6 separate regions of the Homo sapiens genome follow, and all the other regions are linked to region 1. The links are contacts of gene promoters, found by promoter capture Hi-C in blood cells and fetal thymus (Javierre and others, 2016). All regions are on one chromosome and are shown on one strand. Each heading gives the region's core, a stretch centred on a gene start or on the middle of the fragment in contact. The rest is flanking DNA. Distances are from core to core; before and after follow the strand shown. Region 1 holds the start of COL25A1 (collagen type XXV alpha 1 chain). Region 2 overlaps COL25A1 (collagen type XXV alpha 1 chain). Region 3 overlaps COL25A1 (collagen type XXV alpha 1 chain). Region 4 overlaps COL25A1 (collagen type XXV alpha 1 chain). Region 5 overlaps COL25A1 (collagen type XXV alpha 1 chain). Region 6 overlaps COL25A1 (collagen type XXV alpha 1 chain).

The links. The method cuts DNA at HindIII sites, captures the fragments that hold promoters and counts their contacts. A CHiCAGO score of 5 or more calls a contact.
Region 2: a fragment that was not itself captured here is called in contact with the fragment with the promoter of COL25A1 in region 1 in 1 of 17 cell types (erythroblasts); the score reaches 6.4 in erythroblasts.
Region 3: a fragment that was not itself captured here is called in contact with the fragment with the promoter of COL25A1 in region 1 in 7 of 17 cell types (megakaryocytes, endothelial precursors, fetal thymus and 4 more); the score reaches 14.2 in megakaryocytes.
Region 4: a fragment that was not itself captured here is called in contact with the fragment with the promoter of COL25A1 in region 1 in 7 of 17 cell types (endothelial precursors, megakaryocytes, M1 macrophages and 4 more); the score reaches 12.6 in endothelial precursors.
Region 5: a fragment that was not itself captured here is called in contact with the fragment with the promoter of COL25A1 in region 1 in 1 of 17 cell types (megakaryocytes); the score reaches 5.3 in megakaryocytes.
Region 6: a contact is called between a fragment that was not itself captured here and the fragment with the promoter of COL25A1 in region 1, in 1 of 17 cell types (megakaryocytes). The highest score is 5.6, in megakaryocytes.

Annotation. Positions count from the first base shown.
Region 1 is chr4:109,300,090-109,305,203 of GRCh38, reverse strand. COL25A1 (collagen type XXV alpha 1 chain) reads left to right here and starts at 2,546. Exons shown (of 38, transcript NM_198721.4): 1 at 2,546-3,035; 2 at 3,129-3,481; 3 at 4,552-4,621. The coding sequence starts at 3,185. COL25A1-DT (COL25A1 divergent transcript) reads right to left here and starts at 2,169. Exons shown (of 3, transcript NR_160939.1): 1 at 1,877-2,169. RefSeq lists an enhancer at 1,692-2,474. The HindIII fragment of the contact is 6,447 bases long and covers 2,288-5,114 here.
Region 2 is chr4:108,806,110-108,811,223 of GRCh38, reverse strand. COL25A1 (collagen type XXV alpha 1 chain) reads left to right here. Exons shown (of 38, transcript NM_198721.4): 38 at 1-2,499. Among named protein-coding and RNA genes, the nearest start is that of ETNPPL, 46 kb to the right of the region's middle. The HindIII fragment of the contact is 1,077 bases long and covers 1,404-2,480 here.
Region 3 is chr4:108,822,729-108,827,842 of GRCh38, reverse strand. It overlaps COL25A1 (collagen type XXV alpha 1 chain), which reads left to right. Exons shown (of 38, transcript NM_198721.4): 33 at 655-708; 34 at 2,621-2,647; 35 at 3,616-3,669. Among named protein-coding and RNA genes, the nearest start is that of ETNPPL, 62 kb to the right of the region's middle. The HindIII fragment of the contact is 238 bases long and covers 2,006-2,243 here.
Region 4 is chr4:108,843,744-108,848,857 of GRCh38, reverse strand. COL25A1 (collagen type XXV alpha 1 chain) reads left to right here. Exons shown (of 38, transcript NM_198721.4): 27 at 55-99; 28 at 2,639-2,719; 29 at 3,607-3,669; 30 at 4,289-4,339. Among named protein-coding and RNA genes, the nearest start is that of ETNPPL, 83 kb to the right of the region's middle. The HindIII fragment of the contact is 2,816 bases long and covers 627-3,442 here.
Region 5 is chr4:108,896,662-108,901,775 of GRCh38, reverse strand. COL25A1 (collagen type XXV alpha 1 chain) reads left to right here. Exons shown (of 38, transcript NM_198721.4): 14 at 604-657; 15 at 2,596-2,622; 16 at 5,065-5,109. Among named protein-coding and RNA genes, the nearest start is that of ETNPPL, 140 kb to the right of the region's middle. The HindIII fragment of the contact is 1,201 bases long and covers 1,795-2,995 here.
Region 6 is chr4:108,977,457-108,982,570 of GRCh38, reverse strand. All of the region lies in intron 6 of COL25A1 (collagen type XXV alpha 1 chain), which reads left to right. Among named protein-coding and RNA genes, the nearest start is that of ETNPPL, 220 kb to the right of the region's middle. The HindIII fragment of the contact is 182 bases long and covers 2,136-2,317 here.

The DNA of each region.
Region 1 (5,114 bases), core at 1,297-3,796:
CTCTGGATAAAGATCTCAAAGCCACAAAATTCCAACTCTATCTCTCTACTAAGATCTAATAGTGCTGAAGGCTTGCCAGAGTTGTTAATGTACCTTCTCATGGCCAATTTACACAAAGCATGCTATAAGAACATTGCATCATCCAAATTAAATGTGTAACCTACTGTAGGCATCAGTCAAGACAGAAAATGGCTTTTCTACTGAAATTTTAAGAGTGGTATGTTGTCCAAAAGAAAAAGCTCTTTATTCTCATTGTCTCCATACTTCAGAGAAACTGATGTGGAGAGTTTGAGAGGAAGAATGAGCAATGAGGCTAGTGAGATGGTAGACAGGGGGCTTTGTTGTGGGGGTTGAAAGATGTAAGATCTTTGTCCTAAGGACAACCAGAATTATTGAAGGACTCTAAATAGATGAGGAGAGGAGGGCAAGGGAGAAGTCAGGGCCGGCAACTGGGTATTTTGGCTTGGGGAGACTGGATGGATGGCAACTCCATTGGCTGAGATGGGAAACAGAGGAAGCAGACAGAATTTGGAGGTAAGCTGCAGGTTACATTGGAAATGAGAGTGAGACATCCAAACGGAGATGACAAAGAGGCAACTGGCTATATGGATCTGAGGTTCAGGAGAGAGGTTTGGGCTTTTGATATGAATTTATGACTCATCAGTGTAATGGGAACTCTACTGGAGAGAGTATACAGAGAAGATGGAATAGACAGAGACCCAAGGAGCACCAACTTTCAGAGAAATGAAAGAGGAAAAGCCTGCAAATGAGACTAAGGAACAGCTAGAGGTTACAGAAAGAGTTTGTACATTAAAATATTTGTACCCATTATTTGGGTCCTGTTATTGGAAACATGTTTAATCACAATTAAATGTGACTTGAAATTTATCTGTTTTAAAATTTATTTAAAAACGTTGTTTATATTTAAAAGAGGAACAGTAAATCCTCACATCGCAGGGTTATGAGGTTCAAATACAAAAAGTATTTGAAAATATTTTGGAAAGTATTATACCAGTGGTTCTCAAACTTTAGTAGTATATATCAAAATCATTTGGAGGGCTTGTTAAAACACAGATTGCTGTTTTTTTTAAAATTATTATTTCAGTAGTGGTAGTAGCAGTTTCTGATTCAGATCTGTGGTAGGAACCTAGAATTTTAATGTCCAAGTTCTCAGGTGATGCTGATGTTATTGGTCTAGGACCATCCTTTGAGAACCACTGTGTAATACAAATGAATTATGGTTTTGACTTTATAGCCAAATTCATTGAGTTTTCCTCCAATGTTAGTCTCTTTCTTCCTCTAATGCTGTTATTTCCTTACCTTGCTTCACACCTAGCAATATCCGTTTACACATGTGAAAGACCAACTTAGTGAAGTATTTTGTTGACTGTTTACAATAGTAAGCAACGACTTCAGGTTAGCTTAATTAAGGAGAATAGGAAAAATATATGGTTTTTTTTTTTATAGGGAGATAAGAAGGAACTCTTTGGAATAAGAGGTGGGATTTCTGTTTTCCCCAAAGTCAATTAGATGTCAAATGCTACTTGTTACCAACTTTCCAAAATCCCATTAGAGACCTTGTAATTTGATCCAGAGAGAACAGCATTAAGAGTCAGGTAAAAGGAAAAACTGACTTCATTCTTCATTCCTTTCCTAAATCCTGAGAAATGTGTATACCTCAACACTCCCTTTTCCAATCCCGCAAAACAGGGAATCAGGAAAACACATTAGCACCCTAGTACAGACTAGGAATACAGAGCTGGGAGGAGACTCAGTGCCGTCAAGACAAGGAAACTGGGGGAGGGGAAGGAAAACTTCCCCTCGTTGGACAATCTGAGGGCTGCAGTGGGAAGAGAAGGGAAGTGGGGAAATGTACCTCAGACGTCGGCCAGACACTTTGCCTCTGGGCATGTGGGAAAGTGAGGGAGGAGGGAAAAGCGCTGCACCACAGCGAGATAGCAACAGCTCCTGCGGCTGCTTTTGAGTGAAGATCAGTAGAGATAGAGCGTGCCGCTTCACATCTTCCTCCCGGAGGCCATTTCTCCATTTTTATGTGGGATAAAAAGGGGGCGCTGGGCTGAGTCAGTATAAGCCAAAGTTGCCGCCTCTTGCGCAGCCGACCCCGCTTCGGCCCCGGCCCAGGCCAGAGAGGTGGCCCTCGGAGATGCTGAAGTTACTCCGCGCAGGGGGAGGGGTCGCCAGGCTCCTCTCCAATCACGGTGGCCGCTCCAGCTATTTGCATACATTATGCTAATAACAGACCTCCTGCCCCGCTCCCACCCAAGCTTCCCGCCTCCCTTGGGGGTTCCCCGGGCCGGCCCGCGGGCTGGGCCAAGGTGAATACATTATGATAATAAGGCGGGCTCCTGCTTTGCCTTCGGAAGGGGGGCGCGCAGCAGCGGGAGCGGCAGGCCGGACGCCGGGCGCCGGGAGGGGGTCGGGGGAGGGACGTCGTGCTCGGAGCGCGCGCGCACTCACACACTCACACACACACTCACGCGAGCATCGCGAAGGGTATTTAAGGATCGCGCACGCGGGGCTGCGGAGATCCTTCGGGCAGCCGCGACTTCGGCTTCGCGAGTAGCATTGGTTCCTTGGGTTTATTTCGTTTTCCTCTCTCTTCTCCACCTTAGTCGCCCCTTTCGCGCTGCGCTGTAGCGTGCTCTCACAGCCTTTTTGCCTTGAACTGAATGCAGGTGGGAAACAGGTCGGCGTGCCGAAAGACACCGAGTAGGTAGAAATAAGGCAAACTCACAGAGGCGCAACAGGTCCGGTCCTCCGTGGCCAGGGCGAGCCGCGGCCCCGCGTGGCGCCTCGGCCGTTGCCCTCGGACCCTGAGCGGCCACTGTTGGGGCCCTCGAAAGAGGTGTCGGTCCTCTGGGAGTCGGAAGAGCTGTCTGGGTGGGTTTCGTCTTGCTTTTTACCCCACCGCCACCCAGTCCCCGGACGGAGGGTGCTTTTCACTTCCAGCTGGGAGGAGAGAAGAAAGCGGGGATGGTGCACGCCTGCGGGTCTGGACGCTGAGCAAGGCAGGGGTCCGTATCCGCTCGTGGGCTTGACTCCACCAACTAGTTGTGCAGCCACAGGGACTGAACTTTGGAGGAATCGACCTTTTTCTTTCCTTTTAGGATTATTTGAGGTGTAGAGGGTGGGAAGCGAAGCCGAGACGGCCGACCCCGCCACGATGCTGCTGAAGAAGCACGCAGGGAAAGGAGGGGGCCGGGAGCCCAGATCCGAGGACCCGACCCCTGCCGAACAGCATTGTGCCCGGACCATGCCCCCGTGTGCCGTCCTGGCGGCCCTCCTGTCAGTGGTGGCCGTGGTGTCTTGCCTGTACCTGGGTGTGAAAACCAACGACCTCCAGGCGAGGATCGCCGCTCTCGAATCCGCCAAAGGGGCCCCTTCCATTCATCTGCTGCCTGATACCCTGGATCACCTCAAGACTATGGTGCAAGAGAAAGTGGAGCGACTTCTGGCTCAGGTGTGAGAGGCTGGGGTATTTTGCACGTGGGTAACATCTTGTACAAGCGTGACTCTGTGTGCATGACTAGCCGCTACCCTTACTGTACCCATACTTGGTGTGGCTGTGTGTGTGCGCGCGCGTGCATGTGTTGGCCAAGGATCTATGCTCACTGTAGCATATATTTATATGTGCACATCCCTTGATGTCCCCATCCCTATCTCTAATCTTCCCTCACTCTCTCTTAATGTTTGCGTGTTAAACACATAGGAAGGTCTAAAAGGGTTCGGAAAGGGCATTTTATCTCTTTTTAGTTGTCCTAAGTCAAACCCAATTGTGGAGAGAATATTTCTTGCAGAGATAGCATCTGTTAAATCTTTTACATGTTGTAAGATGGTTAGGGTCATAGATGTTATTAATATATAAAAAAGGTAATCACTCTTAAATGTAAAATAATGTCATATATAATTTAAAATCAATAATTTCACACGTTGAATCTTTTCATATTAAAAGTTTAAACTTTTTTTTTTTAAAGTAGCTTTATTTTTGGTAAAGGATGCAGTGCCGGGGTATTTATGAATGCAGAGCCCTTGGAATTGAGAGTTGAGAGGAATCTATGTTATGTGTAAGGGTACCTTTAGACTAGAGTAAGGGGGTTTTCTGGAACCTTACCCTAGCCGGGAGCCTATTTGGCAGTAGTTGCAGCCTAGCATGATAAATAAAGCAGTTGACCTTCATGTATAAAATATTGGCTGTTATTGGTAAGCCACAGCTTACCTAATACTGCAACATTTTAGTGCTAGGTTTTTACATTGACTGCATATGCTTGAGCTGAGGGAGAGAGTGGTGGTAGAGAAGAATGGAGAAAGATGTTATACAAGTCCAGCAATCTTGATACCCTATCAGTGGTCATTTTCTTTTTTTAGGACTTAGGCATGGTTACTTTCTTGACTAGAGTCCAAGTACATATGTAAATGTTAGTTATGCAGGTTATGAAATGCCGGTAAATCAGGCGTATGGCCAGAGTCCCTAAAGACTCCATCCCTCTACAGTGCTACTGATGATTATTAATAACTCTTCTTTTCCTACAGAAATCCTATGAACATATGGCTAAAATAAGAATCGCAAGAGAAGCACCTTCAGAATGTAACTGCCCAGCAGGTAAAATGGAACTTATTTAACAAGGTTTCCTCCAGAGCAGAGCATTTTAAAACAAAGGTCCTGTGTCTGTCAAGTCTACCTGTAATAATAGTAAAGAAAGAATGCAGACCCAACTTGCTTTAATAAAATCAACATGTCTCATTCAAAAGGATGGCAAATAAAGCCCCAAATATTATTTTAAGCAGCATACCAAGGCCTGTTATGGGAAAGCAAAGGATATAATCACCAAAGAAAATATAGGCAAGGTGATGTACAAGGACAAACTTCTTAGATTCACAGATTGAAAAATATTCTTCAATTAAATTGTCTTAATGTCTACAGTGAAAAGGACTGTAGAACTGTTAGATTCTGAATTCCTGGCTCGCTCTTATTGTGTTAGTGCAGAGTTTTTTTTTTTTTTTGTTTTGGTTTATTCCCTTTGGCATACGTTTATGTTAGTAAACCACCTTCACTTCCTTTCCTGCTGTTTCTGTTCTATTAAAAAGATTCCATC
Region 2 (5,114 bases), core at 693-3,192, 490 kb after region 1:
TAATCTTTAACTTTTGGTTACTACAATGTTTTCAAGCATCCATTTTGTCATATAGAGAATTCTTAAATAATTTCTAAGTGAATGAAAGAATTGTGTTTGTTGATATGTGTTGATAGATAATATACTTTCCTTAAAGATTTCTTTAATGTGTGTTATTGGATAGAGGGTTGAGAAAATATACATGAAAGACACATTGGAAATAAGGCAAGGTCAGTTTCTATTTCTAATAAAACATTGAAGGATAGCAAATTGATATGTGTTTTAGATTTAAAATTGTTTTTCATTTATGTTGGTTGGTGCTAATGTATCTCTTTTCCTTTTTCTCTATGGACAATACAACTACTATGGATAATTTTATTTCCCTGTTTAATAGCATTCCTAAATCATTAGTGTGTTATTTTATTTTTAAAGTTCATGAATTTGCTATAATTATGGTCCAATGACCAGGCTTTCTTAATGTAAAACAAAACAGTGTACCAATAGATGATGTGTGTTTACTCGGATCATGGATCCTCCTATTTCATATTCATTTCATACATCATATGCCTTTATCTACTTTCATGTGTCTCATCTTTTTCATTCACTCGTCTTTTAGTTTATATGATTTGATGAAACATGACAAAACTAGCATCAGAGAAGTCTGCACACACCGTATAGAGTACCTAGTGCACAAATATACCTAATTTTTTCTTTCAGTTTTTGTTTTTCATTAGCAAAAGCAGTCTTGGAGGATTTTTTTTTCTCATGTGATTTTATAGAGGACATTAGAATATCTTTAATTCCTACCAGAAGAAAGGTCTTGTTTTTGAATTTACATTCTGTGCATACGATGTTCTGATGGGACAGCAAGAACTTACACATCAACTAGTTTATACTACATGTCCTTTGTCTAACTATCTATCTATATAGACATATGTGCTAGTTTAGAAAATTGTCAAATCAGCATGTCAGTACCAATGGAAAAATTGTCTTTGATATGTTATATTTTTCTCACTTAGGAAATGTGCTTAATTTCCAAGGGTTTTTTTTTTTAATGTTACTATTGAAGCATGAAAAGTTAACATCATTTGTTATCCTTTCTTTCCCCACTATATATTGTCTTACCCAGAGTAGGGCTATACTTTGGTGGTGTTTTAACATCTTCTAATAAGTGATCATAAGCAACATACAGATGCTAATATTTGAAATCTTGTTTTTTCTTACTTCCTAATAATCAAATTATATTAATATTTCACACTACAAAAAAATAGGATTTTCTAATTTGTAAAAACAAGAGCTCCTGCTATCTCTTGGAAGTTAAGTCCTTAGGAACCCTATCTTATCTTTCTAAAAATAATAAGTAAGAACAATCACATGTGATTCTGGCTATTAAAATCATACATCCCTAGTGGAATTAACAAGCTTGACCAATTATGATTATGCTAAATTGTTTTAGGCTAGGAGGACTGTCAGTCCCTACTTCTTCCCATTTTTCTTGGGATATCTTTATATTGGCTAGATTTGTTGCCAATATAAAATTGACACAGCAGAGACACTCCTCTAACTTAAATTTTTAGTGGAGTTTGGTTTTTGCTAACCCCGTACTAATAAACACTTTAATGACTTTTTTCATTTCAAAATATTTAAATGTATAAAATTGCCTATGCTGCTTATTGAAAGAACCGTCCTTTTGGGCATAAGAAGACTTTTTCAACCTAAACCGTTATGTGTGATTTATTAACAACTTAACAAAGAAAGTACCAACATCTCTCAAAATGTAGTTGATATTCTTACCTATCTCAGAAATATTAACGAATTGGATTCACAAAAGAATGTCTTACATACTGTTGACATTTATGTGAATATTCTTTATACTGTTGTAAATGTTTCATTCAACTTAATAACATTTTAAAAGATGTATGTATCTGATTTTTCTTTAGAAAATATTATATTTTTATTTGTATTTTTTACATTTTAAAGTTCATCTCTATGTGCAGCTATTTTTATATTGCCAAAAACTCACATAAATACAAAATAAGTGAAATATGCAAAAAAAAATATTTTGGCAAGCATTACACTGCATATTTTTTTAAATGTTTGTGGGCCAGTCTCATACAATTGATTATTCTAAGAATGTGTTGTGTCTTATCACTGTAAATATGGCACAAACCTGTTTATCTCAGTAGTGTAAATAATTGAAAGATTGAATTCTCCCTGTTCAATTTTTATTTTAATTTCCTTGTAATTTCTCCAGCTGACATTACTGTATCAAAAGATGCATAAGATTTTTGATTTGCGGTTTGGAGATAATTGCATTGTGTTCAGTTTCCAGTTTGTTTTTATTTGCTTTTTAAATTTGTTTTCAGGGTTCCTAGTTTGTGAGAAGTTGATCTTCAGAATTATTTTTACACTATTTATGACTTATTTTCATAATGTAAAAAGTGTGTAATTATTACAATATTAATCCAAACAATGATAATGAATTGTATTGTTATAAAGCTTTATTGATGTTCATGAAAACCTTGGCCTCTTTTCTTTGATTTAAACATTATTCATAAAGAATTTTATTCTACTCTTCTACAATATTGTAACCCCACCATTTAACCTGGTAAACATACCTAGCTATAGGGATTTTCTAAAACTAGAACTTTCTGGTTTGTTGTTGTTGTTTTTTTTTTTTTTGAGACGGAGTCTCGCTGTGTTGCCCAGGCTGGAGTGCAGTGGACCGATCTCGGCTCACTTCAAGCTCCACCTCCTGGGTTCAAGCGTTTCTCTTGCCTCAGCCTCCTGAGTAGCTGGGACTACACGTGCCCGCCACCACACAGGCTAATGTTTGTATTTTTAGTAGAGACAAGGTTTCATCATGTTGGTCAGGCTGGTCTCAAACTCCTGACCTCGTGATCCACCTGCCTCAGCCTCCCAAAGTGCTGGGATTACAGGCGTGAGCCACTGCGCCCGGCCTCCCCTCCTAATTTTCCTCCACTATTTCCCATCTTGATGAATTAAGTTACCTTACGTTTAGTTGCCTCTTACCATCCTCCCATCAAATTAGTCATCAGTATATGATTAGAATGTAGCGTATAATAATCACTTAATAAATATTTAATGGGCTGGGTGCAGTGGCTCACGTCTGTAATCCCAGCACTTTGGGAGGCTGAGGCGGGTGGATCACGAGGTTAGGAGATCAAAACCATCCTGGACAACATGGTGAAACCCCATCTCTACTGAAAATACAAAAAATTAGCTGGGTGTGGTGGCAGGCACCTGTAATCCCAGCTATTCAGGAGGCTGAGGCAGGAGAATCACTTGAACCTGGGAGGCGGAGGTTGCAGTGAGCCCAGATTGCACCTAGGGGACAGAACGAGACTCAGTCTAAAAAAAAAAAAAAATAAATAAATAAATAAAATAAAATTACATATATATATATATGTATTTAATGAATGATGAATGAATAAATGCCTCCACAAAGACACCAATTATTTACAAGTCCCAAATAAAAGAGTACTTCCCAATGCTCACCTTTCTTATATTTTTGCTTTTGTAATTGAAAGATAAAATTGTGTGTATTTGTTGTGCAAAATACGATGTTTTGAAGTATATACACACTGTGGAGTGGCTAGACCTAGCGCTCATCTTTGTTGATCTTGCCAGCAGCATTAGATGCAGTTGACCACTGCCACCCTCTTCAGCACTATTTTTAGTTCTCAAGTCTTTATATTCTTGTCATTTAATCCTACTATTCTTCCTTATTTTCCTCTGCCAGCTCTTCCTTCTCTACCTGATCGTTAAATGATGATTCTCAGGGCTCTCACTTTCATTCTCTCTTCTGCTTTTGCTCTTCTCAGCCACGCATTCCCTCTCTCCAAAAGAGCTCATTCTTTCTCACAAAGACCACGTTTCTGTCTTCATCAGACTTCCTTCCGACTTTCAGACCAACTGATAAAGGCATGTCCACCTGGATGTCTCACAGGTGCTTATCATCTTCCACTTCACCCCTGGTTCTCTTACAGACTTCCATATCATAATAAATGGTGCCACCTTCCCCACCTGCCATCCAGGCAAACAAGATGGAGGCCTCAGAATCATTATGGACACTACCCACCTCCATCACCCACCCATCCCCTCATACACACAGCATCTAATTCACCAAGTTCCTTCAATTCTGCCTCCTAAATCTCCATCAGATCTACCCCTTCTCTCCATCCTCATCCCATGGTCTCAGTTTAGACTTTCCTCATTTTTCAAACTTTTGGAGAAGCCTTCTAACTGGCCTCTCTGCAACTATTAACTATCTCATACCCTCTATCACTCTGAGGATGGTGATTCAAAGAAAGTAAATATGGCTTTATTTATAAATTCATCCTTTTATTTCACTTCCCATAATATTTAAGAAAAATTAAAAGAACATTTATAAAGAACACTATTGCCAGGCACGGTGGCTCACTCCTGTAATGCCAGCACTTTGGGAGGCTGAGGCAGGCAGATTGCTTGAGCCCAGAAATTTGAGACCAGCCCAAGCAACATGGCAAAACCCTGTCTCTAAAAAAATGCAAGAAGAAATTATTCAGTCATTCTTGTACACACCTGTAGTCACAGCTACTTGGGAGGCTGAGGCAGGACGATCACGAGCCTGGGAGGTCAAGGCTGTAGTGAGTCAAGATGGTGCCACTGCACTCCAGCCTGGGTGATGGAGGGAGACCCTGTTTCACAAAAAAAAAAAAAAAAAGAAAAAAGAAAACTTCTAAAATATATGAATTAGTTTAAAAATAAGAACCTGGAAAAACATATGTAAACATAGTTCAAGACCACAAAGAAAGTTATAATGAAAAGATAGAGAATATAAAAGTACATAGTATCATTAAATCAAACAACCAGCATGGCTCTGAGTTCCTTGTTGTTCATAGCAAAAAGAAAAATCAGTAACACACTTATCCATAAAGTGACAAGGCACAGTTTCCTCAAAATAACCAAAGCTAATTGAAAATATATATATATTTATTTATTTAAAGTATATATTTATTTATAAATTTGTATATTTATGTTATATAAATATATATACTTTAAATATTTAATTTAGTTTATATAAATATATATTAAATATAAATATATATATTTTTAGATGGAGTCTCACTCTA
Region 3 (5,114 bases), core at 875-3,374, 480 kb after region 1:
TGATAGAAGGAAAGGTATTTCAGGCCACACACTGTAGTTCAAGCCTGTAATCCCAACACTTTGGGAGTCCAAGGTGGGAGGATTGCTTGAGGCCCCAGAGTTCAAGACCAGCCTGGACAACATAGTAATCTCTACAAATAATTTAAAAACTACCTGGGCATAGTGGTGCTTGCCTGTAGTCCCAGCTACTCAGGAGGTCGAGGTGGGAGGATCACTTAGGCCCAGTAGTTTAAGGTTTCAGTGAGCCATGATCATGCCACTGCACTCCAGCCTGGATGAAAGAGGGAGACCCTGTCTCAAAAAAGAAAGACACTTTATTCTTACATTTAAAGGTGCTAACAAAATAATTAGTAACAAATAAATGTTTCACACTAATGCCAAAGAAACCTAAGTATGACATCTGAGATATGCAAATGCTTTTGCACAGCTGGCCAGCAGCAATCTTGTGCTGCCCCTCTTTCAAAGGTGATTTAGTAAAAGATGCTACTGTGGATTACTTTCCAAATATCACTGGCAGTGACTCTGCAAGAGGCTAAATCTTTGAGATTTTCATAGAATGGTCCTTGAAATAGAGGCTTTAGACATAGGGCATGAGAGAAAGTGTGTGAATGTAGGTGGGTGTGTATGATTTGAACTTTCTACTTTTCATTTTAGGGTGAAAAAGGAGCTATGGGAGAGCCTGGACCAAGAGGGCCCTATGGGCTGCCTGTGAGTTCCTGGTCACATGCACCTCCCCACCTTCCGCATGCATAGATGACCAGTCACTGACACGGTTAACCCTTCGCTTGTGGGGCAGACTAATGTTAGAGAAGAAACAACAATCCACTCATTATCTATAAATTCAGTACTTCCATGTCCTTCACAAATAGGTCATATTCAGTCTCTTGCCCTCTCATCATGTACAGACACATATCCAGGCACTTCACGAGATTGACAGGATCAGAGACTGTCTCTAGAATAAAGTATTAACTCGAGAACAGGATCCTAACTGTCAGAAGATGCCCTCCCTACATCATCTGACTGGACACTCATAACTGGCACTTCCTTGGAAAATCACTGGATCCAAAAATGGCTGTGGAAGCTTCACTGAAAACAGCCTTCTTCAGACTTTATCTGTTCCTATAGACTATTTACTAAAATGACTCTTGCTAGTAAAAATTATTCCCCCAATTACATTGATATTTATGACGACTTGATGTTTCTGACTTTCTAAATTACCGTGATGACAAATGATCTGCAGAACATAGAACACTGATAGTGCTCTGTCTTCTGAAAATTCTTCTCTTCTTATTATTATTATCATTTGAGATGGAGTCTTGCTCTTTTGCCTAGGCTGGAGTGCAGTGGCATGATCTTGGCTCACTGCAACCTCCACCTCCTGGGTTCAAGTGATTCTCCTGCCTCAGCCTCCCAAGTAGCTGGGATTACAGATGTGTGCCACCATGCCCAGCTAATTTTTGTATTTTTAGTAGAGATGGGGTTTCACTATGTTGGCCACGCTGGTCTCAAACTCCTGACCTCAAGTGATCCGCCCTTCTCGGCCTCTCAAAGTGCTCGATTTATAGGCGTGAGACACTGCGCCCGGCCTGAAAATTCTTAATTACACAGAATTCAAATTGAGACCTCTGGTTTGCTTTAAAAATATCATCTTGGGAATAATTATAATTGATTCATTAAGATAGGGTAGGACGACAGTAGAAGCGTACGTTGCATTAAGGGTTTTAACCTTTCCATATCTCACACATGCTCTTTATGAATTGAAATAATAAACATAAACCATGATTACCTCAGTGCTAAATCAAAAAAAAGATGCTGATTTTGAAATAGGTTTCAAAATCTAATTGATGAAATCAAAGTAACCTCTCGTGAACTTTGGATGGATCCATAATATGACACAATAGGGTCATCACCATGATAATCTGCACCATGGGAGTGAATTTATCATTCTTGCCTAACAGTCTTACAACTTTTAAAAAAAATTTGGGGATTATTCATTTACAAAGCTTACTTAAAAACAGCTTTTAAGTTGCAGCCTTCACATCCTTCGTACACAGTGTGCACATCCTAGCCAAATTAAAACTGTATTTCTACATTCTTTACTCATTTGTGAGCTAACTACTAAGTTATCAAATTAAAGTAGCATTGATTCACATCCTCTATTAGTGCTGGTATGTTTTTAAATCAGCTAAACAGTATTTTTGCTTTTAACTTAACTCCTGGACTGGTAACTTAGATACCAAGCTTTAAACATCAGTAGAATATTAGTCTATTTAACCCAATATATCATATAAAATTTTCATGACCCTTAACTTCAACACTAACAGTCACTAATCAACTAAACAGTATTTTTTACTTTTAATTTAACTCCTGGACTGATAACTTAGCTACCAAGGCTTAAACATCAGCAAAATATTAATCTATTTAACCCTATATATAATATAAAATTTTCATGACCCTTAACTGCAACACTAACAGTCACTAATCCAAATGAGAATCTTTTTCACATTTCTGAAGTAGTTGTTCTAGTACTAGTGTTGCATGTTCAGACAGCCTTAAATAAAGCAATAATCTATTCACAAAACTTAGAAACACTAATGTAGCTACTATGGTTCTTTGGCAGGGGAAAGATGGAGAGCCTGGTCTTGATGTAAGTAATAAGTACAATAAACATCATCCTATTATAATAGATGTTGATGGTCTCCATCATCGATAACAAAAAGAATACTTCTTTTTTTTCTGTGCATATAGGTATGCATAGAACATATATTGCTGTGCATGTAAACAGCAATATAAAATACACTAGTGTTTGCATGAGATAAAACAGAAAAGCAAAAAAACACAATTATCTTGTATAAAATTAATAACTGGTAGTGGATAGTGGCACTTCAAAATACTTTCCCAAATTGAGGGTACTCTTAACATCAGCATGACCTATTTATGAAAAATATGCATAAAATCAATATACTTCTCACATGCTATCCTTACAGAATGATATATTATGTTTTTTTCTCAAAGCAGTTATGCAATATTTTTTTCCTTTTAACATTTAGTCCCTATATATCTTATGCTAATATGATTCTGTGAAAATAGAGAATGTCAAAAGTAAATGCCTCTAGACACAATCACTGCTCATCCTGTATTACCTGAATAATGAGAATACCAAAAGTAATACTAGTTACTGTTTATGAGCACCTGTTATGGGCAGGCATCATTCTGGTACTTTGTAGTACATCATCACATTTAACATTCACAACAGCTGTCTGGTAGATATCATTAACCCCATTTTACAGTCAACGGACTAAAGTGCAGAGAGGTAAGTGATTTGCCCAAATCTGCACAAATCAGTGAACTTGCCAGAATTCAAACTAGTATTCTGGTATTCTTTCTACTCTGTATTTCTTAAAAGAAAAAGCAAGAAACCTGTTGTGTATAGATAATTGAGACATTAGAAAACTTATGTTTCTAAGCACTGCTTTATTATCTAAGTCTTAACACTGGTGAGCCATTTCTTGTTATATTTAAGCTCAGAAATGTAAAATCCTAAAATATTTGTTTCTATATGATTTTGCCACTATTACACCAATAGATCTTTTTGGTTTGCTTTTTATCTTACAGGGCTTCCCTGGTCCACGGGGTGAGAAGGGTGATCTAGGAGAAAAGGGAGAAAAGGTGACCTCTCCATCCCAGCATGTACCTTGTTTGATTCTTCTCCTGCTGTCTGCTTTGCTGTTCAGCTTGTGTGATTCCATTTGACACTTAATCTTTCTCCATCCTGTGCTCCAAAAACATACTGATGCCTGATTTAAGGAATCAGGTCTTCAGAGAGGAATGAAGAAGGCTGTACTGCCAGATATAAGGGCACTGCCTGGCATAGAAGAAAAAATTATTATCACCAGATATTCTAGCTACAGTTTTTCAACCACCTGACACCAATTTATGGAAAAATAAAGGATTTTTGAAAAAAAAATCATTTTAAAAAGTAAAATTAAATGACACAAATCTGCAGTAGTATTTGGCAGAGCTCATTGAACCCTGCAAAGGCAGCATCTCACTTGTCTTCACTACTTCCCAGTAGAGAAATGGAGATATGTTTTGTACGTTGATATTTTTTATATGAAAATGGAGGAGAAGCAGTGTGACTGATAAACTACAGTAAGTTCACTACACAGGACTAGGACTTGCCACTTTCAGATTCAGAGCAACAGAGATTTTTAAAACAGAGATATTGGTGTATTTTATGAGGTTGATGTTGAAGTTCTATCTCAGAACCATCAGCTCCATGGTCTTTAGGAGCCCATGTCAGGCAATATGGTTTTATGACTTGAAAGAAAAGTTTGGATTATGGATTTTAAAAGTCAATTTTTCCTTTCCTCTCCTTTGTTCTTTTCTCCTCCTTTCCCTTCTTTACTCTCCTCTGTTTCTTTTCTCTCCTTCCCTCCCTCCCTCCATCCTTCTCTATCTCTGTCTTCCCCTACCACCCCTTTCTCAGTATTTTGCTTGGGTCTTTTACCTGGTAGTAAATCTAAGGAGAATTGTTTACACTGGACACAACAAAAGAAGCCATCAAAAACTCAATCCCTCAATAGAACAGTGGAAATCTTAAAGTGGCTGAAACTACATTTCACAGTACAAATTTAAACCTTATATTTCTCAGGTTAATTTATGTCCCTGCTCTATTTAACCTTATGAATTCTCTTGAACAGTGACATTCATAGCTGTTGACAAGCAAGGCTAAATGAGAGTTGTGAAAGAAAGAAGATTATTAAGCTTGTGGTGTAAGTTTTAGGCCTTAAGCATTGCTTAGACTCTCCTCCCACCCATTGGTAAGAGAGCCCGTGTAAGTGGTTATCTGAAAGCCCCATCATCATCACCAGTATCATCACATTTACTGAGCATTATGTGCTTTCCCAAGAGCTATACATATGATAAGTCTTTTAATCCTCATAACAACCCCCGAAGTTGGCATTATTTTCCCCACTTCACAAACAAGGAAACTGAAGTATAAAAAATTCTTTTATTCTGAATTATAAATTCTGACTATAAAATACATACGTTTTGAGATAAATTGTGCATATAAGCTTTTAGCCCAAGATGAGTGTGTTTTAAAGATGATA
Region 4 (5,114 bases), core at 785-3,284, 460 kb after region 1:
TGCAGTATGTTACCAATGAGAATGGAGGCAAGTCATCTATTTTTATCTTAATAGGGAGAGCAGGGATCTCCAGGAATCCCAGGAATGGATGGAGAGCAGGTAATTTTCAAAGATGTATACTATTATTTAAAGCATCATTCTTGATTACTACTTTTATTGTAGGTTTGAAGCCAAAATGTCATGAGCATTGATATTTGATACCCTCTTTCTTTTAACCATTTGTTCTAGAGACTTCATTGACTCTAAAAAGCAGACATTAGTTTTCTTCGCAAAAACATCTAAGCCATATGATACTTCAGTTTTGTTCTTAATACTTTATATCAACCTACCAGTGACTCCCCTGCAAATTTTTAATAGACTTGTAAAATCATTACCAAGTTAGTAAAACTAGCCTAATTTTTGTCAGTGAATACAAATATGTCAAGATTAAAATCAGTGACCATAGTTTCCACAAAACTAAATCTTGCCTATATGCCTTTTTTAGACAATGTTTTCTTTTCCCAAATAAAGATGACACCTAATCCCTAGATCCTTAGAAAATACAGAAACAAGCAGGGAACTTGTAGCTTGACAGAGTATGGTAGTGTATCTCTGAGGGTTCCCTCTAAAACAGAAGTCGGCAAGCTTTGTTAATAAAGGTCCAGATAGTAAATGCTTTAGGCTTTACAGGCCACATACAATCTGTGTTGAAGTTTCCTTTTTATTTATTTATTTTTGGTTAACACCTCAACAATTTTTTTTTAAATTCACTCTGTACAAAAACAATCCCTGGGATGAATTTGGCCTGTGAGCCATGGTTTGGCGACCCCTGCTCTAAAAGAATCTGAGTTGGAGAACGTGGACAGTATTCAGAATTTGGAATGGAATCAAAAGGGTTAATTTCAAGATCTTTAGTGTTTTCTTGATTTCCATTATTTACCCAAGAAATGGCTAAAATCAGGAAAATCATAAGAAATCAAAAGGATTCTTAATACAGTTAGTGCACATATACTCCTCAGAAGAAAGTATTAGATAGGAAAATTAGGTTTAGGATTATTTTTACTATCAGAGTTATATGCTGAAATAATAATAATGCCATATTAAATGAACATGTGGTAAACAGAAACATAGATACCTTAGATGATTTGCTATATCATAGATCACTTAGAATTTTAAAGTCTGTCTATGTTACTTCTCTGACCATTGGTCATTATAAGCAATTAATTTGACATGCATAATGATATACATTATGGCTCCTACAGATATAGTAGCTAGCTTTTTTTTTTCTTCTGTAGGCTTTGCAAGGTCTTCTTCTATCACTAAGTACATTGGGTTGCCGTCCTGCTGCCATCACTAGATCCCTAAAAATAATCCAGGTCTTATTAATCAGTAAGATCCATCTATTCATTCAGGCACCTACTTACCCATTGGGTAATTCTGAATGCTATTAAATAGGAACAGTTAACAAGAAAAGTTCCTTTCCATAAATAATTTTTCTCCATCGGTTTTAATAAAAAAAAGATAAACAGGTTTGTGCAGCCTAGAAGCCCCTTACCATAATAACTATGATCATCTCTACTGAAGAATGAGCCATTAGTATATTGAAGTGAGTTTCCTAGGATGAAAATGCTTAAAAATATAAATTAATGTCAATATTAATATTATAAAATTCAGGCCAGGCATGGTGGCTCACGCCTGTAATCCCAGCACTTTGGGAGGCCAAGGTGAGCAGATCACCTGAGGTCAGGAGTTTGAGACCAGCCGGGCCAACATGGTGAAACCTCGTCTCTACTAAAAATACAAAAATTACCTGGGCATGGTGGCGCATGCTTGTAGCCCCAGCTACTTGGGAGGCTGAAGCAGGAGAATGGCTTGAACCCAGGAGCCGGAGGTTGCAGTGAGCCAAGATCGCACCATTGCGGTCCAGCCTGGGTGACAGAGTGAGACTCCAACTCAAAAAAAAAAAAAAAAAATTACAAAATTCAGATTTGTTAACATTCAAAATGCATATTTATCTATTTCCTCACTGTAAAGGAGAATAAAAATACCATTCTGACTCATCTCATAGAGACATCATGAGAACAAAATAAGAACACTGTGAAGAGGTTGTCATACTTTTAAGCATTGATTGAGCGTTAGTGTGTGGTAAATGATCCAGTGATTTATCAGTCTGTAGACTGGACCATTGAAAACTCATTGTGACTGGAACTTCTGCCTGCAGTTAGGAGGGAGGGGAGTATAGTGGGTAGAGATGAGAGAAATTTGGACATTTGTTATTATATAACACTAGGTCCCAGTTCAAAATACATCCTGTATTGTTGAGAATTAAGTCTATTAAGTTGTTTTCAGGTCTGGTGAGATAGAATTAGCTGCCAGGTAAAAATACAAAATCAGGAGAAATTATGTCAAAACCTAAGTTCATGTTTTTTATGCTTACATGGCCTAATAGAACTTAATCTATTTCATTACAAGGAGAAATAGTACTGATTGCATGTAGAAGGTTGCTGTAAGAAATAACTCTACCTAAAAACAAAAATCAGAATCATCTCAACATTGAACCCACCTATTAACGAAATTGATCGGAATTCTGTTTTCCCTAGGATGTAATTATCGGGGGTCATTATGCTGCTTACATGCCAACCTTGTCTATCATTTTTAGGGACTCAAAGGCTCAAAGGGAGACATGGGGGACCCAGGTATGACAGGTGAAAAAGGAGGAATTGGACTTCCTGGATTACCGGTATGTTTATACTTTCTGTTTGTTTATACTTTTTATATTATGTTCTTATTAAGATAAATTAAACAATCAGAAAAGAGTTATATTATTAGCTGCAATCTCATCTAGTGGTTCATCTCATATTTTTATTTTGAAATATTTGAGGTATTATTGGTTAATTACTCTAGGGAACTCAAATTGTAAGGCATGTAACCAAATGAATTATAAAGGAAGCCTTCATGTTTTCCTGAATTGTTTTCCCTAGAAGATAATAAAATAAACATAGTTGGCCACTTTAATTTAGTATGCATAAGATGGTGGTAACTGGTTATTGTAAAATAAACCATAATAAAGAAATGAGCCAAAAAATATAGGAGAATTAAAAAACAAATTACTCTGGAAAGTGTCCTCTGTGTGTATGATACTATGGGATGGTGTTTTATGGTTTTCCCCGTAATTCTAACTGAGAATTTGGAGGAGAAAATGTAAAAATTGTTTTAAAAAATGCAGTAAACTCCACTGCCTTAGACTTTTCTGTAAAACAAGGAAGTATATAAATGTCAGTAAAAACTAAGTTAAAAGCCTTACCTTTGCTGTTTAAATTGCGCACCACCATAAAAGATATAACATTTATAACTCAATGTATTTAACACTGTAGGTCTTTAACCAATCAAGCTCAAACTAGTTTTCATTTACTTTATATTTTATTCTACATATCACCCATAATCCTAAGGATTTTAATAAGCTTGCTATTTTAAGCTAGAATTCAAGGAGATAAATCCTTCTTTTATGTAGCAAGTGCATAATATTATAAAATGTCAAGAGAACAATGGGTTTGGGGAGAAAATTCAGTTGTCTCTTACACTGGAAATAACTTTACCTGCTTAACTCTGCTTAATGGTTATTTATAGGGAGCCAATGGAATGAAAGGAGAAAAAGGAGATTCTGGAATGCCGGGTCCACAGGGTCCTTCTGTAAGTCCATGGTGGCTGAACTTCCATTGTTCCTGAACCTCCTCACACACTGACATGTTACTTACCTATTCCACCTCTGCCAGATGGCTGCACAACAGTAGACAGACCTCAAACCTCTTGGTTTGTCAAACTGTAGAAGAAACATCCGTCAGCCCTGCACAGTGATACACAAAGTATATCAGAGGTCTGAGGTAGAAGCAGGTTTTCAGAGGACTGTCTAATCCTGAGGAAAAAAATCAATGGTTTTCTCCTAACAATGGGTAGATCTTTGTGAATATAGAACATACTTGTTTGTTTCTCCAGAGCCCTGCTTATGCTTAGTGAAATATTTGAGTTTGATAGTAGTGACATTATAGCATTTCTTGGTAATTAGTTGCTTCCTTTTCTTTTAACATAGTTTTCATTTATTCTGGCTTTTGGAGAACTTTTTTTGGAATTTTTTTTTTTAATTCTCATAAGGGAATTTCTACATCTAGAGAATCAAACACATCACTTATTCTAGTATCTTTCTTCCTCTCCAACTACTAATGGCCTTAGCAGAACCCCAGCACAAGATTCAAGTTGAACTGCCTTATCTAAATGAAGTAACCAAATACATTTTTATTTTTTGGACATACAGATCATAGGCCCACCAGGCCCACCAGGTCCCCATGGCCCACCTGGCCCCATGGTAAGTTTCCCTTCTTTCTGAAATGTAATTGCTTATTTATGAGCATGCTGCTAGAGAGAACATGAACACATCCCTCTAAACAGCCAGCTTGTATTTTGTACTACTCTCTGTGGAATGGATGGAAAATACCAGGTGCTTTGAGATATATTAACTTTACAGTGTTGTCATTCACTCTCCCAAACACATATGTTGGGAAGAGATAGAGTAGTTTTGCGACAGAGGTGAGGAAAGACAGACACATATAGCAAGCTCTACTACAACTTTACAGTGTGAACACTGGCAAATCATTTTATCCGGCCACTCCTCTAACCTGATACCAGCAGAATAAGATTTAGAATTGGCTGGACACAATGGCTCATGCCAACACTTTGGGAGGCCGAGGTGGGCAGATCACTTGAGGTCAGGAGTTACCAGCCTGGGCAACATGGCAAAACTCCATCTCTACTACAAAAATTAACTGGCCATGGTGGCACATGCCTGTAGTCCCAGCTACTCAGGAGGCTGAGGTGGGAGGATTGCCTGAGCCCAGGGAGGCTGAGGTTGCAGTGAGTTGTGATCATGCCCTTGCCCTTTAGCCTGGGAGACAGTGAGACTCTATCTCAAAAATAATAATAATAATAATAATAATAGTAATAATAGCCATTAAAGAATGTTTTCTGACAAAGTTTGAGGTTTGAACTCTTTAATGAAATGTTCAATAGGAACATTTATGTATAAGGTATCAAAATATCACACTATATCCATAAATATATAGTTATTATGTGTCAATTTTAAA
Region 5 (5,114 bases), core at 1,146-3,645, 400 kb after region 1:
CTATCATTCAATATGGCAATGAGATCCATAAGTCTGAATGTTTTATTCTACTTATTTTTACAATGAAATTGGAAAGAAAAACCAAATCTGTTTTTAGTGTTTACTTTTGTGTCAAATGTGTCTAAATGAATTAAGTAGGTGTTCAAAGATGTATATGTTCTTCAAGATTTAGGTTTGTAAATGTTCATTTAAGTCTAATGTGAGAACAGAATGATTTATTCTTTCTTTTTCTGAGCTGATGAATCACTTAAAAGTTTTTTGCCAGGAGAGTCTTATATTTTCAGTTGTCTTTTACTCATTCAGAAAATATTTATTTGATGTTCACAATGTACCCAGCAACATGCTAGATGTTAATTTCCACTGGTAAGTTGCCTCAGTTTTCTTAATGATGAGAAGACTGAACAAAGGAAATTAACCCCATTGTATCCTTGCTCCATTACATGCAGCGTTTTGGACCATGGAAGCTAACTTGAATTTAAACTAATAGTCACTTATTCTTTATCTATTTCTAGAGAATTATTAGATGGCTGTCTCCTCTAATGATCCATGTAATGTATTGATTTTGTCTATTTTACTTAGTAGTATCTATTTTTCTATTTTGAGGGTGAGCCCGGGTTGCCTGGAGCAGTAGGACAGAATGGAATACCAGGACCTAAGGTTAGTACAAATAAAGCCAAGCAGAATCATTTGACACACGAATTGTCAGGAAATTGTAAGCTATTATTTAATACAATTTTTAACAATCTCACCAGTTGCACTTACATGGGTATTTTGTGAATAGTATAATATGCTATAGTATAGAACTTTGTTACTAATGAATTAATTATATTTGTGATTCTCATTAGTATTAAATGCAGAAAAATAAATGGGATGTGATCATCTAACATCTTTATTCTGAGATACTTAAATAACATGAATAGGCCTATGTTTCCAATATGGCTGTTGTCATTTTACCACTTAGTGGGTATATAAAAACATAGGTCATGTCCATATTGCCTAAAATTTTTATATTTACATGCCTTACTAAAGATGACATTCACTATGGCTTTTCCCCAAGATTTGGCCACCTCCAGCTCTTACACAACATAACCAGTTAATCAGATGAAGGCAGAATAAAGATGTTTAAAATTTAAAAATGGATGTAGTCTGAATTACCAAATAGGGAAAAAATGTAATGAAGATTTTTTTATTCCAAGTCTTCTTTGTTTCTTAAAAAAATTGAATCAGTTAAATATAAAAAGATTGGGGACAATTTAGTTTAAATCAAGCAGGCAGCCAAATCCCAAATCCTTTGATGAGTGAACATCCCTTGAAGTACAAAACTAATGTTTAATCCCATCAGCTGTGCTGGTGTGTATTCGTACCCACAGATGCCTGTCAGCTGATTTTACAGATCATTTGCTATTGACAGGCGCCTAGGACAGACCTGAAATTTATAGACCTGTTCTTTGTCCTGCAGGAGAGGAAAGAAAATATTCCTTCTGGGACTCTAGCTGTTTTCCTGTCTTCTTCTCTCTCTTTCTCCATGCTAAAAAGCCAAACAATGGGAGTTAATGCTTAATGCATGTTCACAGTGCTATTCTGGTGTTGCCTAGCGACCATCAGGATGGGTGTTGAGCAGTGAAGGTGACCAGAAATGCAGAAAGCCAAAGGGTCAGGTTGAGTTCCAGAGAAAAGAGTCTTGCTTCCAAACTGACTTCTGCAGTGGGTTATAAATTTAAAAAAATACAATAATTGCCTTATTTCATTTTTTTTCCAAAGCAGTCTGATCTTATGGCAACATTCACTCAAGCTTTTCATAGGAAACTATTTTCATAATGTATATGATTTACTTTAGGACTCCTACTCTCCTGCTCCAACCTCTGTCCTTTCCTGGGTAAAGTGAAAATGAGATTCTCTTCAGGGCACCATTTTGCATTTTAGTCCTCATGCTATCCAGGTCATCATTTTGAATAAGGACATCATTCCTAAACTCACTTCAATTCTGCCCCATTCTAGTGTCTTTCCTTAAGGTGCCTCCTAAAATAGACCTGATCTGGAACATGCTCTTTACCAGAAGCTAAAGAGAGTTTATGACATTGTAAGGGGTTCAAGATTAGGACTATTTATGATCATGTTAGGGCAAGACAGATTGGGTAACTACCCTGGCACCCTAGACCCTGGAAATGATCTATGAACCGGGGAACACTTTGAATAAAAGGATTTTCAGAAAAACATGCTAGTCCACCTGATTAACTCTGAGTTTAAGCAGAATGAAAAATTGTAGGCTAAGAAGCCTCTCAAGATATTGAATTGCCACACCATCATTCTCCTTAGTGCTCCAAAAGCCAGTTTCTGGATGATAATCTTCAAAAACATTTATTTAGTGCTATAAAAGCAAAAAATTAAGATTACATTTGATAATTGATATTCATACTCAAATTCTCCAGGAAACTCATTTTATCATTTGTTTTCATATAGCAACTGCATGTAGCCAAAATAGAAAATGTCATGCATAATTTACCTAGTAAGTTCAATATCTGTTTTGTTTAATAATGATAATAAAATTAGGTGTTTTATGATTTGATGTCACCCAATCTCTGTCTTTTTGCTCAGGGAGAACCTGGAGAACAAGGTGAAAAGGTAAGAATGATTCTGCCTGTATTTCTCTCTCCCTACTCCCCACCACCAGCATACCAAAGAAGTACTCAAACTAAACTATATGCATGAATGGATGGGTGGATGGATGGGTGGGTGGGTAGATTAATAGGTAGGTAGGTAGGTATATAGATATATAGATATATAGATATATAGATATAGATATGACTCCTGTGTTTTTTCAAACTGTTAATTAGTGGAAGGAGGAAATAGTGTGATTCTTATGTATAGACAAAAATTTGGGTTAAAAAAAGTTTTAAAAAATAAAGAGAAAGGTGCCGATGTACCTTCAGAACAAATATTTAATAATGAAGAGAAAGGGAGCAAATTTAAACATTCTGTGTCAGGCTTTTAAGCTTTTAAACGGGTTTCAAAAATCCTTAGGCCTGCAAAATCTGGTCTGCCTACTTGCTAATGCCATTCTAATGCTTCTCCAAGCACCCACATCTCTCTCTACTGCTTCTAATGTCACTAGGTTAAAGGGATACAGATGTTTACCTGCAGCAATTATCTGAAGGTTGCCCACAAAGAATTCCCATAAAAACCAAAAAGAGAAACAGGAAGAGCAGAGTGTTAAGTTACTCCTAGACTCTTTTTCTTACTTGGGCCTGTCCTGATTATTTTTAGGCTCTGATTGCATATTACGATACTTATTTTCCTGGTTCTCATGCTACTTATTTTAATAGTGTTTGAAAAATATGCTGAGTAGGAAACTACCAAGTTACTACATCATGCTCTTTGTAAGTGATATGGTCTTTCTGACAAATCAGTATTATAACCTCTCATCCCAAAAGAAGTTTATGTAAAGATCAAGAAAAATTCTTAATTATAACTGTATTTTTCAACATTGTAAAGAAAAAAAACCATTTATTTAATGGAGGGGGAGCAAAATACGTGGGTGGAAAGGGCAGTTTCCTGAGGGGACAGCTCAGTTAAACCCTTCACTTTGCAATTACTCTGAGCCAGTTTCCCTACTAAGAAGGTTGGTTTGTTTGTTTTGTTCTGTAATAGAGGGATTTTTGTGCAATTTTATAAAAAGCATGCAAATCAACTGCCTATCAAAGATCCCTCATAACACATTACTAGGACATTTATTTAGCATCCAATCAGTTCATGGTAATTAACCTGAAATTAATTAGTCACTGGGTGACTCTTTTGTGTAGAAATTAGGAGGGAAAAGGAGCAGTATCAGCACCATACCAGGCGTTCATCAGAGAAAGTGTCCCAGGCTCTTGTGGCCTGCCGCAGTGTATTTGTCACCATAAACAAATGCCCAGGCAGACTAACTTCATGCTTATTTGAAAGAATAAAACAAAATACAGAGGAAAAAAGTGAAAGTCTGCCTTCCCAACTTCCTTTCTCCCCCCTCCCAAGAAAGTTATGATCAATAGTTTCTGTCCTATTTTAAGAAACTTTTTGAGTAATAGAAAAGTGACTGCATTCCAGCCTATGGAATATGTGAATAGTAATGCATTGTTATCATTAATAGCTTATGATGTGCCAGATACTGCCCTAGTTGCTTTACACACAGTGTAGTACTTATTTCTTATAACTGTGTAAATTATCCTTTCTATTACATTGCACAGGAGAAACCTGATGCAAAGAGAATCTCATTTGCCCAGTAGGTGCTGGAACTGGTCTGTCTCCCTGGCTCCAAAGTCCATAACATTTCCACATAACATATTGTAAGACTTATATTGAAGAATTCAGAATTTAAGGAAGATAATAAACGAATGCTTATTTCCCTAATGCATTGCTTTGTAGGCAGAAAAGAGATGTCAGTGAGGGAACAGGCATAGGAAGTCTCAAAAATAACAACAAAAAAAGCATAAACTATGATTTAAAAAATTTTTCTAGTAAAGCATAAAACATTCATTTCACAAATGCAAACCATGTAGGCCCAGATAAATCAATATTCAGTCCACAGGTTTTGAGGGCCCTGTCCTGTACTTTGAGGCCCTGGAGATTTTGAGATATGCTTGAAGACAGGACAGGATTTATACAGATGGAAAGGGAAAGAGAGGGGAGGGATCCAGGTGACAGGAATGATATGAAGAAGGCCTCAGAATTGGTAAGGCCCATGGCATATTCAGGGAACTGTCAGGAGAAAGCCTTTGTTTGCGTGGAGCTTTGAGCAGAGACAGAATTAAGAAGGCTTTAAGTGCCCAAATAAGGCATTGGAAGACAGATAAGTGTTTTCTGTTAATACTGTGGAATAGTTTAAAACTGTTCAGCCATGTTAGTTGTAGTAAAATTTCTTTTATTGATATCAGACAACTGGTCAAGTATAAATACATTAGCTCTATAGAGCATTTGCAACAGATTTTAATATGTAGTGTTCATGAAAGAAAGCTTAAAATAATGAAAAATATTATCTGCTTGACGTCACCAATGTATTTTACATGTGTCACTTTCTCACCTCCTCAGGGAGACGCTGGAGAGAACGGCCCCAAGGGTGACACAGGCGAAAAGGTACA
Region 6 (5,114 bases), core at 977-3,476, 320 kb after region 1:
ACATTGAATCTGGTTCTTCTATAATGCTTTATATGTTGCTGTTTTGAACACAGAGTTTTATTGCATTCTTTTCTTTCTGGGCCTTTCAATTCAGCAAGAACTGGTTGGGCACCTACTCTATGCTACGGGTGACTAGGTGGTTCTAGGGCCTGACGTTTAGTCTATTTTAATCATAAAAGTAATGTGGTTAAAACTACGACCAAGTTTATTTGTTTTGTTTGGTAATAGTTCCTTAACGATAGAGGTAGACTATATTAGACCTTCCTATTCTCGAAATATTTCCACCGTCCCCCCAGGACATTTCCCAAGGCATTTTCTTTTGGTTTAGGAAATCAATTGTATTTCTTTTTTGTTTTGTTTGTGTGTGTGTGTTTTTTGAGACAGAGTCTCACTCTGTTGCCCAGGCTGGAGTGCAGTGGCACGATCTCAGCTCACTGCAAGCTCCGCCTCTTCGGTTCAAGCGATTCTCCTGCCTCAGCCTCCTGAGTAGCTGGGATTACAGGCGCATGCCACCACGCCTGGCTAATTTTTGTATTTTTAGTAGAGACGAGGTTTCACCATGTTGGTCAGGCTGGTCTCGAACTCCTGACCTTGTGATCTGCCTGCCTCAGCCTCCTAAAGTGCTGCATGAGCCACCGTGCCTAGCCAGGAAGTTGATTGTATTTCTTTATCCTCAAGTCAAGTATCTGAAAAATAAATTTTATTTTATGTTTATGATAATTAAAATATTAAGTGTGTACTTGATAATTACTATTATATTATTGGTAGGGCAGGCATTTTATAAATTGCTTCATGTATAATATTTTATTTTAGCCAAACAGTGGGCATTATTTTCCCCATTTTAAGATTAAGAAATTGCGGAACAAGGAGATTAATTAACCATTTAAAGATCACACAGGTGATTGTAGCCAGGATTTCAATCTGCATCGGTTTGACTCCAAAACTTGAGCTCTTAACCGCCAAGATATGTTATTTCATGTACTGCATTTTAAAGTAACTCTCAAATTCTACTTTCACTTTTTTTTAACTTTTTTACTGAAGCATTTAAAAAGATATTAAACACAAGTATCCACACACACAATTTATCTATACTTACATACGGGAACTCCTATGATTTTACATCAGTTTTTTCAGAAAAAGTTATTTTAACTTTAAAATTTTCACATTTGTAGTTCGTTATTTGCAAAGTTGAAAGTCTATAAAACAACTTAGTGGTTTGAAGAAGAAATGTCTCTAAAAAATGTGTGCCAGTAAAACAGAAAACTATGTATGAGTTTAAGGTGAAAGTAAATACTCGAAAGAACACATGTTCACATTCTAGTTGGAGGTAAACCTGTACTACATAAAACACTTTTTTTCAGAAGTAGGGTGGATGTATCCTCACCTAAATACCTAGGATCCCTATTTTTCAAGTAAAACACTAGATTTTCAATTGTTAATACTATTTGCAATGTGGTTTTCTGCAGTTTTAGAGACCTGTTAAGAAACTGTGGTACCAAATTCAGTTTCCTTGTAAGTGTGGGGATTGAGTATGTGTGTCATTGGCACTATGAGTCAAGTTCATCATGCAATTTAGGGAGTAGGCAGTAGAATTGAAGCTTCTATCCTAGTTGTACAAGAGAAAAACGGGATATTCCGCTTCCTCCCTGTGAGATTGTGAACATCGATGTTTGCTTGTGCCTGAGCACATCAGAAAGAAGATCCACATCAGACGTGCGGTGACCATTGAGGTTGTGCTGTGCTCCTAGAGGACGGCTTGTACAGCAGACTATCTTCTTTATCTTTAAAAGAGTAGGAAACTTGTGGAGTTTAAAATAGAGTAATTCCATATTCAGTTTACAGTTGAAAAAGTAGAGGAAAGAAAATGTGATAAAGGTTTCCTCTATTCAGAAGTTAACACGGAAGAATTGTGGCTTCTGAGGGGAGGCAGTTATGACTACCTCTGTGCTGCTTCTGCTCAATGGTGGTGATAGAGAATGTTTTCTCTCTCCTCAGCTATTTCCAATTAGGCCAGCCGACGCTGCCAACACTGTGGATTTGAAATATAACACTAAAACCAGATTTAAACTCTATTTGATTCACTTGGCTGTGGAACTGCTGTGTTCATCTACGTTGAACCAGCTTAGGCCAAAGCTTGTCTGCAAATACACTAAATTGTGAACCTTGAAATAAGTAGGACTTGTTAAAACATGTTGACACCTGTCAGTGGCCCCCATGTCCAATCAGTTAACCAGTCTTGTTGTTTTTTACTTGAGAAATGTCTCCTGAATCTAGACCTCTCCCTGTGCCTCCACTAGCACAACCTTAATTCAAAGCTTTACCATCTCTCTTTTGGACCAAGGCAAATACTTCCTAAGAATCCCGAACACCCCGTGTTCTCAGAGTTCCACAAAACAGAGCACACTTCATCTCCGCACTCCTTGTTACATTGATGACAGAATCCAGCTCAAACGCCTGAGTGTGGTTAACCAGCCTTTTAAAATCTCTTTCCTGCTATTTTCTATCTCCACTCCCCACATGTTCTTACCACCCTGAACTCCTTTCTCTGACAGAGTGGTATTTTCTCACAACTGGGCATGTGCATCCCTTCCCCCCGGGCCTGCTTCGCTCCTCCTCCCTCCATCTTCCATCGCCTTACTCCTGGATATCTTTCAAGAGCCAGTTCCAATAGCATCTTTTCAACTCCAGCTCTCCCACCTCTTTCTGCTCTGTACTCCCACAACACAGTATTTAGTCCACTGATTGTGATTATATTTACATGTCCCTCCTCCAGACTCAGAGTACATCGCCTGGCTGATAGTGAGCCAGAAATTCTTAGAGAATGAAGCTTGCTTGTCCTCATATTTCTACAGCAATGAATAGATTAATCAGAAAAGGTTTTGTTATATTTCATGAATAAAAATAAACTTATCTATTCTTTCCTGGGATAGAAGTCATAACCCCATTCTTATTCCAGGCACTCGGGCTGCCAAGAATTCCCAGCATTTGCTCCTTTTCCACTTTTTTCTACCCCAAGCAGAATTTAATTTTGTTTTCATGATTGTCATCTTTTAAAAACTATTCCTGCCTTAGTTTTTTCCAGTTCAAAGCAAATATAATTTACAGTTCCAGTAAATAAAAAACCATGATTGGGTTACTCCAGGCCTATGAATATATCTCTCTTTTCCAGCTGTATTTCCATTGCTGTTATGTAGATTGAAATTCAATATTTTCCTGAATGTCATTCATTGTGCCTCTCTTTGTTTTTAGTTTGGTTTTATCATTTAATTGAAATAGACAATAGAGCATAGGAAAAAAGCTAAAACCTTAGTTACTTAAACGGAAGTAGATTTGAGGAGACTTAAATTGGTATAGGCCAAAACCCACATTAAAGGCTTTTTACAAATAGAAGGGTGGTTCTTGCAAACTCTGAATGTAAAGCCGTTTGAACAGGGGCTAATTTTAAGTTTGCCACAGAAATTTAGAAATCCTTTGGTGTAGGAAGTTAATAACATTCCAACAATGCCCTAAAATAAATCTTCTAATTACTAACAACACTAATAAATAAAAACTTTATTAGCACCCTTAAGTACTTATTAATGTAATTAACTTTAGGATTAATTACATACAACTAATTCAAAAGATCATATCAAATATTCCTACTTATTTATTAAAGTGGGGCTTATAAAAGATCTGACTATTGGATTCTAGACCAAACCAGGACAAGAGTCCCCAAAAGGGCCTTCTATAGAGCTGTGACTCACTGTTCACTTCCCTATGACTGCTAATTTTACCATCTTTCCTTTCCATTGACCCTAACCTTGTTGGAGCAACAAAGTTTTATCTTCAAATAGTTACCAATCAGCCATTGATACTGTCACCTGAACAATAAATATGTCTACTAAATATTAGATTGTTGAGCTTGGTTTAGTTGGAAACAGCAATGTGCCATTGAAAAATAATTTGTAATTCAAATAGCCATTAATTTTTATTGCTGCCTATCCTTTAGTTAATACTAGTTAGCTTTTTTAATGCTAAAGATAAAAAAAAATTAATACCCCAATTTTAATTTTAAAGGGTAATGTTCAAATAAACCTTTCTTTCATTTGTAATTTTTTGACTTAGAAAAGAAGTATGGCTTCTAAATTTTGGAAATATTATACTATCTGTGTTTACTAAGGTAGCCCACTTTGTTCTGCAAATTTAACCCATATTTTCAGTGAAGAGGGTCCAATTCGGAAGGAAGAGTGGGATTTCAGTCAGAGCAGAAGAAAACACCTGCTGTTAATCCAAGTGCACAAGTCGGGGCCGGAGCGTCCGAAGCAGCCGCTGCAGCTGTGCATGGAGGTTGACCTCGGCTTTGCTTCTGTCCTAAGCTGGCAGGTGCCAGGACGCCATACTGTCTGCTCAGAAACACCATCTTTTGAGGCAGCAATATTTATTGCTCAATTGTAGATGCAAATTAAGCATTCTTGCTCAGGGCAAGTTGGCTAAAGAACTCTAGTTGATACGTGGATTTGGCATGAGTAATTGGACTTTGAGGAAAAGGGTTGTCTCTGTTCCTCACTGTCAAATAACTTCACAAAAACTTTGTCCTTAAAGATGCTGTGTAACCTAACAAGGTGCCTTTAGAGGACTGGTACAATGGGAGATGTGGCCTGTGAAATCTCACTGGCAAAAGCAAACAAAAGTTTAAAGAGAAACCTGGGAAGGGGGTGGATATGGAGGCTGGGGAGGTGTCTATAGTAACAGTTGACCTTGATGTAGCTGAGTTTTGTAGAGGTCGTTTTTTCTTAATGCTACTATGTGGAAACTGTTTGCCTTAGACACTAGGCTATTTAGCTTCTCCAGGACAGGGACTATGTCTTTCTAAATCAGCCTTTCCCAAACATATATGTTCCCCCAGTGCTTACAGTGTTGCCACACTGTATAGACATTCAACAAATGTGTGTAAAAATCGAAATAAAGTTAACTAACATGCTACTTAAATCAAGACTAGAACCTCAATTGTATTTTTTAAATTTGGTCATATCCTCTCATTATTATTTTCTTTGGCTTTCATCTGCCCCACCACAAATAAAATCCTACTTGTATAACCTTAGTAAGCATTTTGCATGTGTTAAAAATAATTGAAT